2 separate regions of the Homo sapiens genome follow, and region 2 is linked to region 1. Evidence: promoter capture Hi-C in 16 types of primary human blood cells and fetal thymus (Javierre and others, 2016). All regions are on one chromosome and are shown on one strand. Each heading gives the region's core, a stretch centred on a gene start or on the middle of the fragment in contact. The rest is flanking DNA. Distances are from core to core; before and after follow the strand shown.

What was found. Contacts are between HindIII fragments. The CHiCAGO score rates a contact against its expected background, and 5 or more counts as called.
Region 2: a fragment that was not itself captured here is called in contact with the fragment with the promoter of SULT2A1 in region 1 in 1 of 17 cell types (endothelial precursors); the score reaches 6.6 in endothelial precursors.

What each region holds. Positions count from the first base shown.
Region 1 is chr19:47,885,050-47,887,749 of GRCh38, reverse strand. It overlaps SULT2A1 (sulfotransferase family 2A member 1), which reads left to right and starts at 1,435. Exons shown (of 6, transcript NM_003167.4): 1 at 1,435-1,628. The coding sequence starts at 1,493. The HindIII fragment of the contact is 7,780 bases long and covers 1,125-2,700 here.
Region 2 is chr19:47,473,865-47,476,564 of GRCh38, reverse strand. KPTN (kaptin, actin binding protein) reads left to right here. Exons shown (of 12, transcript NM_007059.4): 11 at 1-33; 12 at 1,021-1,415. The coding sequence ends at 1,149. Among named protein-coding and RNA genes, the nearest start is that of SLC8A2, 3.3 kb to the right of the region's middle. The HindIII fragment of the contact is 1,285 bases long and covers 747-2,031 here.

The DNA of each region.
Region 1 (2,700 bases), core at 186-2,685:
ATCAAGTAGACTTCTATTCAGCTTTTGCTCCTGCCCTGCTGTTTATCCCTTAAGAATGAGTTTCTTGGACTTTCCCAATATGTGATTTTTTTTTCCCATTTAGAATGGTGATTTTAAATGTGTGAGTGCATGCATTATCTTATCTCAGATATTTGCACCCCCAATCCACCCCCATCTCCCTAAAGCTAGAACACTGCCAACTGATCTGTTGTATAGGTCCTTTAGAAACACATAATTAGGCTGGGCGTGGCGGATCACAAGGTCAGGAGATTGAAACCATCCTGGCTAACACGGTGAAACCCCGTCTCTACTAAAAATACAAAAAATTAGCTGGGCGTGGTGGCGGGCACCTGTAGTCCCAGCTACTCTGGAGGCTGAGGCAGGAGAATGGCATGAACCCAGTAGGCAGAGCTTGCAGCAAGCCGAGATCGCGCCACTACACTCCAGCCTGGACGACAGAGTGAGACTCCATCTCAAAAAAAAAAAAAAAACAAACAAACACATAATTAACACTTAAGGTTGGGTGCTGCCAATTCTTTGTGAAAATCCAAATATTATTAAGGAAACAGGGAGATGCCACTACCTCTTGATTTTCCATCTAAAAACATACATGTTTATGCAAACAAATCTTTCCATATTCATAGTGACTTTTCAAGTATTTGAGTCTAAAGATTTTCATCTCACATTTTTATACCGTTTAAATTGTTCACAATTATTACATACACGTCAGCCATCAACTAAAGTTGTACTTTAAAAATTTACTACAATATATACACTGCTAATATTTGTACTTACTCTTTTTTTCTCTAGAGTGGAGGTATAATTGTGTGATACTTCAGAAATACAGATAAATGATTCAAAAAGTCTCAGGGAGAATAATGTTTCTTTGATCGTGAATAACTGATTAGTAATTCTTGCCTATATTTTCCTGAGAGCATATGACAAATGTTTCTAAGGTAACAAGATGAGAACAGATAAAGACTGTGTGGTCTTTTGGATTTGGAGAGACATATTTTAATTTTTAAATGCAGTTACAAATTATAATGTATTCATATTTGTACTTTCTGTTAAAATGCACGATTGCAGGATTATTTAGATTTTGTGTTTATGCTTGATGAAAAGCTTTGTTCTTGTTTTTAAGTTTGCACTCAAACCTTAAGAAATAAATTCACCCATATTATCAAAAAAAATATTTGTCCTCGTGTTTGTTATTCGATCTTGCAGTTCACTCTCAGGAACGCAAGCTCAGATGACCCCTAAAATGGTCTCTAGATAAGTTCATGATTGCTCAACATCTTCAATCTTTTGAGTATGGGTCACATTATACCTCTCTTTATCAGCAAGTAAACTTTACAACAAACATGTGACATGCTGGGACAAGGTTAAAGATCGTTTTATCCTTGCTGTAAAAGCTGATCTGCCTGTAGCTGCCACAGCCTCCAGCGGTGGCTACAGTTGAAACCCTCACACCACGCAGGAAGAGGTCATCATCATGTCGGACGATTTCTTATGGTTTGAAGGCATAGCTTTCCCTACTATGGGTTTCAGATCCGAAACCTTAAGAAAAGTACGTGATGAGTTCGTGATAAGGGATGAAGATGTAATAATATTGACTTACCCCAAATCAGGTAAGGAGGCAGAATCGTGAACTGAGAAAGGCTGTGGTTGTGTTCCTGTCCATTCAGTGCATGATTGGAGTTCTTCCTTTATGTCAGACAGTGTACAATGCTTTAAGGGGAAGAGAGGAATGCCTAATACCATTGACAATCAGAGAAAAGGATTTAGTCAGGAAATTACACAGTAGGATGAGTGTTCAGAGGGGTAATCTAAGGTATTAGGAGAATCCACAGGAGTGAATCCCAAGGCAAATTCAGGTGTTTGTTTGGTGGCAGTGGGAGGGAGGATGGCTGAGGATGACCAATGATGTCCTGAAAGAAGAAATAGCATTTAAATGGAAATGCAAAGAATGAGTATGAAATTACTTGGGGGGAGGGCTATTTTCAGATAGGAGAATCATCAGGGCAATGGCCAGGAACCACAAAAGAGCCAGGCAATCTCAAGGGGCTGAAAGATGAGGATCATATGTCTCTGGGAGTGGGGCTGTGGGTGGAGGGCGGTAAGAGCACTGCGGATGCGGTGAGGATTGAGGCTGAAGACATTGGAAGTGGCATGGCCCTGAGAGGCCAAGAGCAATGGGAACATAATAAGAGGGATTTCAGCAAATAGCCAAAAGATGGAAGCAACCCAGATATCCACTGACAGGTGAGTGAATAAACAAAATGTGGTATATAGCTATAATGGAATGTTATTCATCCTTGAGAAGGAAGAAAATTCTGATGCATGATACAACAGAGATAAACATCAAGGACATTATGCTAAATGAAATAAGCCAGTCACAAAAATACAAATAGTGTGTGATTCCACTTACATAAGGTACCTGGAGTCATCAAGTCCATAGAAACAGAAAGTACACTGGCGGCTGCCAGGGGCTGAAGAGAAGGGTAAATGGGGAGTCGGTGCTGGCTCTGCATAGAGTTTCGGTTTTGCAACACAAAAATCCTCTGGAGATTGGTTGAGCAGCACTGGGAATATACTTAACACTTAACACTACGAAACCGTAGGCTTAAAAGTGGTTGACAGGCTGGGCATGGTGGCTCATACCTGTAATCCCAGCACTTTGGGAGGTCAAGGCAGGTGGAT
Region 2 (2,700 bases), core at 140-2,639, 410 kb after region 1:
GTGGTCTCCCTGAAGGGCGTGCACATCCTGCAGGTATCCCCAGCTCTTGGGGTGGGAGGGGAGTCGACCTCAGCAGTTTCGAGCAGGGGGTGCAGGCCTCCTCCTGGGGGAGGGAGGAACTCATTTCAGGGAGGCAGTTCCTACCAGTCAGGACAACTCCCAGGAGAAAGGGGCAGCTGTGAGCGCTCACAGCAGCTGGGGTGGGGGCACCGGCCTGGTGAAGGAGATTTATTTATTTATTTATTATTTTATTTTTGAGACAGAGTCTTGCTCTGTCACCCAGGCTCTAGCGCAGTGACTCGATCTCAGCTCACTGCAACCTCCACCTCCCAGGTTCAAACAATTCTCATGCCTCAGCCTCTCAAGCAGCTGGGAAATACAGCCGCACGCCACCACGCCCAGCTAATTTTTGTATTTTTAGTAGAGACGGAGTTTCACCATGTTGCCCAGGTTAGTCTCAAACTTCTGGCCTCAAGTCATCCGCCCACCTCGGCCTCCCAAAGTGCTAGGATTACAGGTGTGAGCCACCACACCCTGGCCTTTTTTTTTTTTTTTTTGGTTTTTTTGTTTGTTTGTTTGTTTTCGAGACAGAGTCTTGCTCTGTTTCCCAGGCTGGAGTGCAGTTTCCCAGGCTGGTGTGCAGTGGTGTGATCTCAGTTCACTGCAACCTCCACCTTCCAGGTTCAAGTGATTGTCCTGCCTCAGCCTCCCTAGTAGCTGGGATGACAGGCACCTGCCACCAAGCTTGGCTAAATTTTATATTCCTTTTATATTCCTTCTAATCTCACTTCCTTACATTTGGGTCTAGGCTTTGTCCCTCCCACTAGAAATTCGCTTAAGGCCACTCCCCTTCACCCCTGTCACAGAGGCCCATTCCCATCCCACACACTGTGGTCTGCTCTCTGCCCTCCCACGTGGGCCGAGCTCCTGGCCTTTGGAGTTGCTTCACTCCAGACGGTCCCGCTGTGGTCCCACAGCTCTTCCTCAGCTCCATCCCCCTCATTCTCTTGTTCCCCACAGCACAGCCTGATTCAGGCCTCAGAGCTGGTCTTGACCCGGCTTCGACATCAAGTGGAGCAGAGGAGACGTCGGCTACAGGGGTTGGAGGACGGGGCAGGTGCAGGGCCTGCTGAGAATGCAGCCTCTTAAGCACCCATGCACCCACTCTTCCCAGACCTGGGGCGACTCATGGCGTGCTCACCTCCAGCCGCTGGTGGGGGGTGTCCTGAAGGACAGGATGCTCTCCCCAGACCTCCCCAGGGTGGTGAAGCTGTGCCCTGGGGCCCCAGCTAACCCACTCCTCTCTCTGTACGTCAATGTCCCTATTTGAAAGCAGGGATGATCCCATTCCACCCTGTCCACTCTGGATGAGAATTGGCCACCTGATGGTTATTTATACGTCCAGAAGAACATCATTTCCCAGTTGTCTCGATTCTTTTTTTCGGCAAGCATTTGGTGAGCACCTGCTGTATGCCTGGCTCTGTGTTGGATGCTGGATTCACCCAGAGGAATTGAGGGAGAGGGATTTGGGGGAGAGGGAATCCAAGGCTAGACCCAGATACAGGCCGGAGGTTAGATCCCAGGGTAGAACCCAAGAGAAAGAAATGGGGTGACACCTTAGCAGAAAGGCTAAAAGTTAAACCACTGTGGAACAGATTACGTAAAATGGAAGGGAAAGAGCTGAGGTTAGACCCTAGTGGAGAGAGCTGACATGAGACCCCAGTGGAAAGATCTAGATCTAAGGGTAGATCCCAGTGGAAAGGTAAGGAGCTTGAGCGTTTAGAGGAAAACTTGTGGGTAGAAAGGGCTGCTGTGGGAAAGCAGTGGTCCATTTGTAGCAGAGGGTCTGAGGCTAGACTCCCTATGAATAATGCTGAGGTTGGACCCCAACAAAAAATTGCTATGGCCAGATCCTGTGCAAGGGGCCAGGGTTAAACCCCAGCAGAAAGTGAGCTTAGTTCCCAGTGGAGAGCACTGAGGCAAGACCCAGGGAGAAGACCCAGGCTAGACCATGCTGGAAAGGGCTAAGCTTAGACCTAATCTAAAAAGCCTAGGGGGTTGGGGGCCCAGGGAGTGGGAGACAAGCCTGATTCTCCCAGCCTGTGGTGGTAGGAGTTGCCTTGCCTGTGGTCTTTTGTGTGTGTGTGAGAGACGGAGTCTCATTCTGATGCACTGGTTGGAGTGCAGTGGCGCGATCTCGGCTCACTGCAACCTCCACCTCCTGGTTCAAGCGATTCTCCTGCCTCGGCCTCCTGAGTAGCTGGGATTACAAGCGTACGCCACCACGCCTGGCTAATTTTTTTGTATTTTTAGTAGAGACAGGGTTTCACCGTGTTGGCCAGGCTGGTCTCAAACTCCTGACCTCAGGTGATCTGCCCGCCTCGGCCTCCCAAAGTGCTGGGATGACAGGCGTGAGTCACTGAGCCCGGCCTCCTGTGCTCCGTTCTGTATTACCAGGAGAAGGAATCAGAGGCCTGTGTCTCTAGGATCAGTGGAGGGTGGGAACGATGGAAGTCTTGTCCTCCGTCCACTGCAGGCCAGGAATAGAATCTGGGTCAGCAGGGTTGGGGGATGATCATTCCCTGGGCCGTATCCAGGCTGGGGGCAGGGGTTGGGCAGGACATCTGCTTCCTGGGGGTTCAGGGGAGAGGCAGACACCGTAGTCATTTTGGCCATCTGTCTACCTCCCGCTATGGAGGT